3 separate regions of the Homo sapiens genome follow, and all the other regions are linked to region 1. The links are contacts of gene promoters, found by promoter capture Hi-C in human tissues and cell types (Jung and others, 2019). All regions are on one chromosome and are shown on one strand. Each heading gives the region's core, a stretch centred on a gene start or on the middle of the fragment in contact. The rest is flanking DNA. Distances are from core to core; before and after follow the strand shown.

What was found. Contacts are between HindIII fragments. The study calls those that stand out against the background at their distance.
Region 2: a fragment that was not itself captured here is called in contact with the fragment with the promoter of IFT27 in region 1 in 1 of the 25 tissues and cell types used here (dorsolateral prefrontal cortex).
Region 3: a contact is called between the fragment with the promoter of GGA1 here and the fragment with the promoter of IFT27 in region 1, in 2 of the 25 tissues and cell types used here (dorsolateral prefrontal cortex and lymphoblastoid cells).

What each region holds. Positions count from the first base shown.
Region 1 is chr22:36,773,850-36,777,629 of GRCh38, reverse strand. It overlaps IFT27 (intraflagellar transport 27), which reads left to right and starts at 1,511. Exons shown (of 7, transcript NM_001177701.3): 1 at 1,511-1,956. The coding sequence starts at 1,923. RefSeq lists enhancers at 119-682, 1,210-1,469, 1,248-1,811 and silencers at 1,710-1,759, 1,890-1,949. The HindIII fragment of the contact is 3,270 bases long and covers 874-3,780 here.
Region 2 is chr22:37,536,858-37,540,444 of GRCh38, reverse strand. No RefSeq gene overlaps it. Among named protein-coding and RNA genes, the nearest start is that of CARD10, 19 kb to the right of the region's middle. RefSeq lists a silencer at 1,372-1,561 and enhancers at 1,180-1,679, 1,680-2,181, 2,288-2,497. The HindIII fragment of the contact is 4,240 bases long and covers 1-3,587 here.
Region 3 is chr22:37,606,736-37,610,548 of GRCh38, reverse strand. GGA1 (golgi associated, gamma adaptin ear containing, ARF binding protein 1) reads right to left here and starts at 1,715. Exons shown (of 17, transcript NM_013365.5): 1 at 1,646-1,715. The coding sequence starts at 1,688. RefSeq lists enhancers at 886-995, 710-1,331, 1,936-2,105, 2,256-2,335, a silencer at 1,326-1,775 and a cis regulatory region at 3,080-3,539. The HindIII fragment of the contact is 29,756 bases long and covers 1-3,813 here.

The DNA of each region.
Region 1 (3,780 bases), core at 262-2,761:
TTAACAGGGTCACTCATGGTGAACAGGTTGGCCTGGAGGGGAGCCGGCAAGAGGAAGGCAGAAGACCAGAAAGAGGCTTTTTGCTCACTCAGACCTGGATGTCTGAGACAGACTCACGTGATGTCACCAAAGAAGAAAAGCAGTTACGAGAAATGAAGGAGAAACAGACCTTTACCGTAGCGCCAGGAATGAATCCCAAGGAAAGAACATCTCAGACAACTTGCATTTACTCTGGATTCGGGGCTGAAACCATCAGCCATTCATAGAGTGTGTGTGTTTATTCCCCCACACAAGGCTGGCAGCCACTCTGAGATGCAGAGTGGCGGAGAGGTGGAATGTTCTAGGTGTCTGGAGGGAATGTGGAACTTTCGCACAGGCACCTTTGCTGAGGGGCTGCTCTTCCCTTCAGCATCAGCCATCAGAATCCCAGGGGCCCTGAGAAAGTGAGAACAAGGGGTACATTCGGCCAACCAGTGACAGTGATGATAAACCAAATCTGTCCAGATAAGCTTCCGCTCTCCCATCCACCCCACAATCACGTGTGCACCTACTATCTCCCAGGCACTCATACGTTTCTCTCCTTCCATCTCCACAACCACCCCACAAGGCGGGTTCTCCTAGGCCCATCCTGAGGCTGAGGGATGAGGTGACTTGTCCAGGCCAGGGATTTAGGTCTCTGACCCCCTAACCACGTGCAAGAGGCACCCCCAACCCAGTAAACGCGTACAGAGAGCCTCCCTGGGTGACGGGCAAACGAGGTTAGTGATGCATTCTCCTTTTGCAGAGAGTAAATGGACTAAGAGCAAAGTACGACTTCAAGTTTCCGAGTCTCACCGCTTAGCCCCATCAAAGTGTATTTGTTCTCCCTTTGTTCACAAACATCACTTTAATAAAACACCTTCATATTTTAGATTTTAACGCTCATTACATCTTTGAGCTTTTAAAATGAGATTTCCCTGCGGGATGCGGGGCAAGGACTGCACTTCTCCATGCACTTTAATAGCCGCGCTGTGCAGAACCCGGGAACCGGGGAAGCCGCGAGAACCGCGCGAAGTCAGAGCAAGTCAAAACGACCTCTACAGCGGCGGCCTGGCCCACTGCGCAGGCGCCGCTCCAGACCGCCTAGAGCCCAACCTGCCCCATTGTAGGCGAACCCACTTCTAGAAGGACAGCGGGAGTGGCGAATCCCTATTCCTCCCGAAGATGGGTCAAGCCAGACTCTGACCAATCAGAAAGCTTCTCTTGTCACCGCTTCTGACTGCTTGACGTGGAGGCTTCTTTATCTCGGGACTCTCAGGCGCAGCGGGGGCGGGATATAAAGCTGGTTGACGTCAATTACAACCACTCGTCAAGCAGACTGAACTTGAAGAACTGATAACTCTACGAATTGCATCTCAAGAAAAGGCTGTTATCCCAGCTCTCTACTCCCATTGGATTTTTGTGAGACCTTGAGGGTGGGAGCTTTTGGCGGCAACCAATCGAGGGTCAGCGAGGAGGAGGAGGAGGCGGGGCAGGTGGGCTATGGTTGCTTGGAGAGTGCATCCGGCCCGGTACTTGTGATCGGAGGAGAGCCGGATCGTCCTTCCTTGAACCCTCTGGGTAGGGCTGTGCTGAGGGGCTGGGCGGGGAGCACAGGCCGTGTCCGCTCGCTTGCACCTTTTCAGACTGCCGTGTCAGGCCTCGAGCCGGGCCCACCTGGAGCCCTCCCCTGCCCACCCGCCCCCAGCGCCCGATATCCGCCCCCGGCCCAGAAGGGCCGGGCTCGGTCATCCCCAGTCCCGTCGCGGCCACTGACCCTTGAGATCAGCCCTCCCCTCCCCACCTTCCCGTCCCAGGCCAGCCCAGGGCCCGAAGCCCACCCACTCGCGTCTCTAGCAGCCGCTCTTGTCCTCTGGGTACGGCTCGCGGGAGTGTTGGTTACCATGGTGAAGCTGGCAGCCAAATGCATCCTGGCAGGTGAGTCTGAAAACTTGCGCTTGAATACGGTGGTCTCTGGAGTCCAGAGCCTTCATAATTCATCCAGAGCTTTTGTTCACCTAAATTGCCTACCTTTTCCTTTCTCTCTCCCAAAGGCGAGTTACTGCAATTACTGATACAGTAAATTACGTTAGGCGTGGAAGAATGATCTTCCAGGGCACTTCGCAGCTCCAGTGGATTTCCCCCTGCTCCCTGTCACATACTCTGAGACCACCTTCACCAGTTGAGGTGACTCGTTAAAAAATCACTAGTTACAACTCTGGAGAAGCAGACTTGTTAAAACAAAACAAAACAAACAAAGCTTAAGCAAACCTTGAGTGCTTCAGCTAAACATATACTGTACCCCAAAGTTAGGCATCAGTGACTTTGGTAGTCTTTACTATGGGATTTTTCCCCCGACCTCACCCCCTCTGATAACGGTGACCTGAGTGTAGTGACCAGAGTTTGCAAAAGGCACTTGTGTGTTGTCTTTAAGACCCAAAGTTACTGTGCTGCCCCACTCCAAGAAGGGCATAAATGTTGAGTCTCCCAAAGGCAGGAATCTTTGTTTTGTTGACTGATACATCCCAAGCACCCAGAACAATGCCTGGAACATAGTAGGTACTCAATAAATACTTTTAGAATGGATGAATATGTGAATATGTGGCATGCACATTTGTAGTGTACCCCTTGTATCAGTCTGCACATTTAGAAAAACAATATTTTGGATTATAGACTGCGAAACACATATGCATGTTACTGAGTGCTTACTGCATGTGAAGCACACATATTTCATGTAATCGTCTCACCATAGCACACTGGGCTAGGTACTGGATTGTTTTTCTTTTTTTTTTTTTTTTTTGAGACGGAGTCTCACGCTGTTGCCCAGGCTGGAGGGCAGTGGCGCAATCTCGGCTCACTGCAACCTCCACCTCCCTGGTTCAAGCAATTCCCCTGCCTCAGCCTCCCAAGTAGCTGGGATTACAGGCGCAAGCCACCATGCCCGGCTAATTTTTTTTTGTATTTTTAATAGAGCTGGGGTTTCACCATGTTGGCCAGACTGGTCTCGAACTCCTGACTTCAGGTGATCCACCCACCTCGGCCTCCCAAAGTGCTGGGATTACAGGCATGAGCCACTGCGCCCGGCCAGGTACTGGATTGTTCTGATCTTACTGAGGCACTGAGAGATGTCAGCCAAGGTCAACCCCTAGTGAAGGCCCTATGCAGGATTTCAGCCCCTAGATCTGGCCAACTCCAAAACTCTTAACTCGTGTTTCTGTTGAAACCTGTGACCTTTCCAGGCTTCCCTGGCCAGCTCAGGAAAGAAGTGGTGAGAAATTATATAGAGAAAAAGAGATTCCTGTTTTAAAAAATTCCCCTCTTCCAGACTGAGAATAAATGATAATATTTTTAATGGCTTTTATAATTTGAAAATAAAAGGGTCACACAGAAAGATGACTGACAGTAGTAACTGAATCATACTGGAGCAAAATAAATTAATGGTTCTCAGGAGAATCTCCAGTTTCCAGAGCACCAGAGGAGGCAGTGTTGTGTAACAAAAGTAATTTTGCCTGTTCCTCTTATTGGCTGTGTCATCTTGGACGAAGCACTTTTTGAGCTTTAATTTCCTTATGGATAAGGTGGGAACATTATTTTCTGAAGTTACTTTTTTTTTTAAATGGGCTTCTCTCTGGGTTCTTTTTAAATTCGGTTTTCATCATGGAGCTAACTTACTGGCGCTTTGGGTGCATCAGCTCTGCTAGACCCTCAATACAGGTGGTCTCATTGAATCCTCATAGCAACCCTGTGGGATTGGCATTATTG
Region 2 (3,587 bases), core at 471-2,970, 760 kb before region 1:
GTGTGTTTGGAGAGCAGTGGGTGTGGTGGAGTTTGGGTTTTGGGGGGAAGTAGGGGGCCAGGAGTTTGGGGCCTTGGGCACAATCCTGTAGGCTATTAGGAGTGGGAGTCAGTGAACCGAGTGGCAGGAAGAAAATTTAAACATCTCTATTAGTTTCCTGTGGCAGCTGTAACAAATGACCACAATCTTGGTGGCTTAAAACAATAAAAATTTATTCTCTCCACGCCAGGTGCAGGGCTCTCGCCTGTGATCCCAGCACTTTGGGAAGCCAACGCAGGAGGATCGCTTGAGCCCAGTAGTTCGAGACCAGCTTGGGCAACATAGTGAGACCCTCATCTCTACAAAAAACTTTAAAAAATTAGCTGGACATGGTGGTGTGAGCTGGGAGTCCCAGCCACTTGGGAGGCTGAGGTGGGAGAATCGCTTGAGCCCAGGAGGTCAAGGCTGCAGTGAGCTATGATCACACCACTGCACTCCAGCCTGGGCAATAGAGCAAGACCCTGTCACTGAAAAACAAACAAACAAAAATGATTAGTTCTGGAATCCAGAAGTCTGAAATCAAGGTGTTGGAGGGGCCCCGCTCCCTCTGAAGGTGCTAGGGGAGAATCCTTCCTTGCCTCTTCCCGCTTCTGGTGGCTCCAGGTGTCCTTGCCTTATGGCAGCCTCGCTCCTGCCTCTGCCGACATTTCCGTGTAGCTCCCTCTGTGTCAGCATCTTCTCTTCTTGTAAGGACACTTGTCAGTGGATTTGGCCCCCCACGGATAATCCAGGACGATCTCATCTTGAGATCCTTACTTTTTTTTTTTTTTAAGATGGAGTTTCGTTCTTGTCACCCAGGCTGGCGTGCAATGGTGCAATCTGGTCTCACTGCAACCCTCTCCTCCCGGGTTCAAGCGATTCTCCTGCCTCAGCCTCCCAAGTAGCTGGAATTACAGGCATCCGCCACTACGCCTGGCTAATTTTTTATTTATATTTTTAGTAGAGAGGGGGTTTCGCTGTGTTGGTCAAGCTTGTCTTGAGCTCCTGACCTCAGGTGATCCGCCAGCCTCAGCCTCCCAAAGTGCTGGGATTACAGGAGTGAGCCACCGCGCCCGGCCGAGATTCTTATCTTCATTACATTCGCAAAGACTCTTTTTTCAAATAAGACTGTATTCCCTGGTCCCAGGTGGACGTGTCTTTTGCAGGGGGGCCACCAGTCAACCCACTGCAAAATCCCCAGGCAGTGCCCTCTCCCACGTTCCTCTCCTCCTTGGGGCTCCCAGCCCCTCCAATCCAGCCTCCTTGAGTAGGAACTGTGTGGTCCTCATTCACTTTTCCACCCCTAGGGCCCAGAGTGGGCAGTGTGTTTGCAAATATAACTCCGTTCCTCTCTTCTTCCCTCCCTCCCTCCAGTAACCGATGCCACCAGAGGCTAGAACTGGTGCTGCACCTGTGGGACGAGGGCGCCACCGTGTGTCCAGCTTGGAGCAGTGTGGTCACAGGCTTGAGCCCAGCCCCTGCCCTGCTGACAGCCACTTACAGAGCGCCTGCCCCACCAGTCACTCCACCCACATCAGCCCTCTTCTTCATGGCCGCAGTATAAAGAGGGAATTACTATCCAGTTTTTCAGATAAGGAGACTGAGGCTGAGACCTTGCTAACGTCACCCAGCCTTCAGCTGCCGCCAACTCCAAAGCCACACCCACGCCATGCTGTGGACCAAAACTAGACCTGTGCGTGGGTCTGGGCGTGAGCCTTCAGACTTCTCAGGGTGTCCTGCTATTGGGAAGCTGACGCAGGAGGATTGCTTGAGCCCAGTAGTTCGAGACCAGCTTGGGCAACATAGTGAGACCCTCATCTCTACACCTCTTCTGTAAAGGGGGGAAGGTGCCAAGGACCGCCCTTGCCAGGTGGCCCCTTCCCCGTCTCTGGCCCTGAGAGAGACCTGCAGACCCCTGAGGCCTGTGGGTCTTGGGGGAATGAATTTTTGGGGAATACAATTCTGAGTACTTTCCAAACATTAGTCTTTTTGAATATTTTGGTGTTCATTGTTTTTCTCTAAACATTTGCATATGTGTGAACTATTTAGTGATTTAAAAAATATACTTAACTGGGTTAAAACTTTACGTAGGGCTGAGTGCAGTGGCTCACGCCTGTAATCCCAGCCCTTTGGGAAGCCACGGTGGGCGGATCACTTGAGGTCAGGAGTTTGAGACCAGCCTGGCCAATATGGTGAAACCCTGTCTCTACTAAAAATACAAAAATTAGCCGGCTGTGGTGGTGCATGCCTGTAATCCCAGCTACTCGGGAGGCTGAGGCAGGAGAATTGCTTGAACCGGGGAGGTGGAGGTTGCAGTGAGCCAAGATTGTGCCACTGCACTTCAGCCTGGGCGATGGAGTGAGACTCTGTCTCAAAAAACAAAAGAAAACGAAACCAACTTTATGTAGGCCTCCAGTTCCCCTCTAAAAGACAACAGCTGGCTGGGCGCAGTGGCTCACGCCTGTAATCCCAGTACTTTGGGGAAGCCAAGGCAGGAGGTTCACTTGAGGCCAGGGCTTCGAGACCAGCCTGGGCAACATAGTGAGACCCTGTCTCTATTTAAAACAAACAAACAAAAAAGGCCTGGCACCGTGGCTCATGCCTGTAATCCCAGCACTTTGGGAGGCTGAGGCAGGCGGATCACCTGAGGTCAGGAGTTTGAGACCAGCCTGGCCATGCGGCGAAACCCTTACTAAAAATACAAAAATTAGCCAGATGTGGTAGCGGTGGGGGGTGCCTGTAATCCCAGCTCCTCAGGAGGCTGCGGCAGGGAAAATTGCTTGAACCCGAGAGGTGGAGGTTACAGTGAGCCAAGATCGCACCATGGCCCTCCAGCCTAGGCAACAGAGCGAGACTCCATCTCAAAAAAAAAAAAAAAATAAAATAAATAAATAAAAAATAAATGAAAAACAATAACTGATGGCAGTTTCCTCCATATTCTCCCAGAGATGATCTGGGATGATTTATATATGTATATATGTATGTACATGTACACAGTATATGCAGACACACACACCACACACACATTCCCCCACTTCTTTTTAAAAGCAAATGGTGGCATACGATATACAATTCTCTACTGTCTTTTTCCACATAATGACATTTTTGCATTTATTCCATATGATTGCATATAATTTACCTTTGGGGGTTGTATTAGTTTGGGCTTCCTTAACAAACTACTATAGACTGGGGGGCTGAAATAGCAGAAATTGATTTTCTCACAGTCTGGAGGTTGGAAGTCCAGGATCAAGGGATGGGAATAGTGGCTTCTTCCCAGGCCTCTCTCCTTGGCTTGTAGATGGCCATCTTCCCATCATCTTTCTTCTGTACACATCTGTGTCCAAATCTCCTCTTCCTATAAGAGGCAAGGGTACTATTTTGATTGACATTATATACATGAAATAAGTGTATACAGAGTGAGCGCGCCATGTAGCCAGTAACCGAATAAAGGCCCAAATCATACTGGATTAGGGTTTGCCCTAAAGACCTCATTTTAACTTTTTTTTGAGACAGGGTCTCGCTCTGTTGCCCAGGCTGGAGTGCAGTGGCATGATCTTGGCTCACTGCAA
Region 3 (3,813 bases), core at 466-2,965, 830 kb before region 1:
GCCAACATGGTGAAAGCCCACCTGTACTAAAAATACAAAAATAGCTGGGCGTGGTGGCGCACCTGTAATTCCAGCTACTCGGGAGGCTGAGACAGGAGAATCACTTGAACCCGGGAGGTGGAGGTTGCAGAGAGCTGAGATTGTGCCACTGCACTCCAGCCTGGGTGACAAGAGTGAAAACCCGTCTCAAAAAAAAAAAGAAGAAGCTATCCTTTACCTCCAGCCTCCACAAGGGAAGAGGAAAGATCTTACAATTCTGCTAGGACACAAAGGGGGAAGGAAAGGAGAAAATCCCAGCCCCAGTGTGTCAGGGCCCAGCCAAACCCAGGTATCTCTAACTTCTGCCTGGTTTTAGACTCTCTGGACTCTCAGAAAACCCCCACTGTTTCTAAACCTGAGAATGTTTTGTATGACCCACAGCTCAAGACCTGTGTCTGAGATCAGTTAGCCAGGGGCCCACCCATCCCCCCAGCCCAGTTGCTGCTGAGACCCAGGCGGACACTTCCGGCGTTCACAACGGTCAAGGGCTGCTGAGTGCCCCTTTTCCACCCCCTGCCCCTCTGGTGGCTAGGATGACTCTGAAACATCCCTAGAGGTTTGGTTCTGGGGCCAACCTCATGGTTCAACTCTGCTCAAGCCTGGCTTAAAAGGGGCCGGCCATGACCCCAAACCACGCTAGACAGTTGCCGGTGTGCCCGGGTCCAAGAGGGTTCCCTGAGGCCCTGGCAACGACGGGGTCCCAACAGCAGTTAAAGCCTTGGGAGAGAACCCTCACTAGACCAGGGAGAAGCCAGCCACGGCTTTCAGAGGCAGAGTCCAGGAGCGGGGCTGTGAGAGCAGGGGATCATCAGGGCTGTGGGTTAAGGAGCTCAGGTGGAGGGTTTGCGGGCTAGGAAGCCTAAGCAATAGGAAGCTACGTCTGAGGAGAAACAAGAAAAAAAGGGGTGTAGAAGCCTTTGAAGGAAGTTCAGCAAGAGCTGGGAAAGGCATCTTGGAGACTGAGGGGTTAGGCTGAAGGGAGTGACAGGGAGCTTGGAATTATTAATACTTCTGGAGTCTAAGACTCTCCCAAGCCTGTAGGGTGCGGGGGTTTCTCACTATGTGGCTAGAGACTAGGAGCGGCGGGAGGAATCAAATGGGGCAGTGGGTCCTCCCTTCCAGGACGGGGTAATGAGCAAATGTGACTACTTGCGGGCTCCAGGAACGCCATGCAGGGCCAGAGAGTGGAGGATTCGGGGCCTGAAAATAGTAGGGTCCCTCCCTCCCGGGTGTGAGATGCAACCCCGGGGAACCGCTCGCGTGCTCCTTCCCCGGGCCGCTACTCCGTGAAGCAATGTGAGCCTTGGGGGTTGGAGGCTGCTCTCTCCGTCCCGGGGGTTCCCGGCGCAGCTCACTCGCCGTCCCAGGGGTCATGGCCCAGGGATCCGACAGGTGGGCGGCGCCCGCTCCCACCGCTGGACCGCGCCGGGGCCGGGGTCCTCCATCGCTCCAGGGTCTGAGGGGCCGACTGAGGACACCGCCCCTCCCGGGCCGGGGGCGGGGCGTGAGGAGGGGGCGACCCGTACCCCGCCCCCGCCGGGAAGGGGCCCGCCTCGTGCCCCCGGTTCCGGTTCCGGTCCGGCCCGCGCCCCTCCCGGACACTCACTGATTCGCGCCTCCAGAGTCTCCGGCTCCATCGCGGGCTCCATCCGCCACCGGCCCCCAGCCTCGGCACCGCCCCCCCGCCCCCCGCAGCTCTCGCGGGACCTCCTGGGCACCGCCCTCTGCCGATTAAAGGGGCAACGTCCGAACGGGCGCGCTCGGCACCATAGAGAGGCCAACGAGCTCGCCTAGAGCGTCACCTACTCGCCCAACCCCACCCCCACGCGGCGTCTACGTCGCAGCTGGGACCGGCCGCCTGCTTTTCCGTTCCCGGCGCTCAGGCGGGAGAGGAAGTGGAGATACTGCAGGCTAAGGGCAGCACCATGGAAACCCCAAGGGACGCTCTAACTCGTTCTGCGTCACGGAGATGTCTGTGACCGCCTCCGGAAGAATTCTCTGCGGGCATGTTGCTGAGGGGCTCTGAGGCCACTTCCGGAGCCCTGAGCGGGTACTTCCGCTTAGAGTCGAACGTGGGAGAGTCCCTTAAAAGGGCGATAAGCTACATCCTCATGTACCTTGGCCGCTGTGAAAATGACGAAAATAAATCAGTTTCTTGAGTGCTTACAGTATTCTGGGCATTGTCCTAAGCACTATTTGTAATTAATCCATTTAGTTCTGACTCCTTACAACAAACCCACCAGATAATTAGTCGGCCTGAGGCCGCACAAGTAGCAGAGCTTGAACCCTGTGCCGTCTCCTCCATTCATCCAGCCAACGTTTAATGAACTCTTTGTATTTGCTTTGCTCTGTGATGGGCACAGAAGGAGATAGACAAGGCCAGATATTTATTACAGTGTGATAGGGGAAGCCCACGGGGTAGTGGGAACAAAGGAGGGGGCTCCTCCCCCAAACTGGGGTGGGGTGGGTGGGGGTGTTGTCAGGGGAGGGGTCGTGTCAGGGGAGGGGTCGTGTCAGGGGAGGTTTCAAGAGAAAGTGATACTGTACTTCGCTCAAAGACAGTCGGATTTCTCCACGTAGAGCTGGTGCGAAAAGATATTCAGGGAGAAAAAGTAGGATGAAGGCCGAGGAGGGCGGATCACGAGGTCAGGAGATCGAAACCATCCTAACACGGTGAAACCCCGTCTCTACTAAAAAAAAAAAAAAAAAAAAATTATCTGGGCGCGCCTTTAGTGCCAGCTACTTAGAAGGCTGAGGCAGAAGAATCGCTTGAACCCGGGAGGTGAAGGTTGCAGTGAGCCGAGATTGCGTCACTGCACTCCAGCCTGGGCGGCATAGCGAGACTCAGTCTCAAAAAAAAAAAAAAAAAAAAAAGTAGGATGAGTCCAGGGAGTTGGAAGTATTTCAATACGGCTCCCAGATATCTGCAAATAGATATCTATTTGCAGGAGATATCTTGGAATTAGGCTGGGGCAAGATCACCCAGGTCCCATGTTTTGCTGCCCTTTTTTTTTTTTTTCCCTGTAAGCAACGTTGGAGGTGTCGTTACAGTTTTACGGATGGTAGCAAAGTCAGGCTTTTGTTTTAGAAGGGTCCAGCAGTGGGAGGAAGATAGCAGTGGGAGCCAGACTGGAATCGGGGAGGACAGTACGAACAGACTTCCTAAGCTCGGCGCCTTTTCTCCTGTATCTCCCTCCATCAAAGACCTCCCTCACCTTGTGGCGTCACGACCTGGCGGCGCCTGGTCCCCGACTCACCTGGGTCCATTGCACTCTGTCGCCCCCTCGCGGCCGGCTGGGAAACCGGCCCGTGGCGACCTCTCCAGCGGTCCTGTGCCTGGGAGGGTTAAAGCTCCACTGAGACTAGGGAATCTGGCGAATCCGGTTCTGCCTTGGCGACTGACCTCGATTCACCTTGCGGAACCGCAGTAACCTCATCCAGGAGATGAGGGGGCTGTGCTGGGTCAGTTTTTCCCCTAAACTCAACCATTCAGCGACTGGGATGCTTTTCTAAATTCTCTCCCAAAGGCCATTGAGATTATACAGGGAAGTGATATGTATGTTTATTGCATTCCTCAACAAAAGCTGTAACGTAGTGTATACTTATAGCTTTTTGTTTATGTCTTTTACTACTGAAATGAATTATATATATTTTTTTATTTTATTTTATTTTTGAGACGGAGTCTCTCTCTGTCGCCCAGGCCGGAGTGCAGTGACGCGATCTCAGCTCACCACAACCTCTGCCTCCCGGGTTCAAGTGATTTTCCTCCCTCAC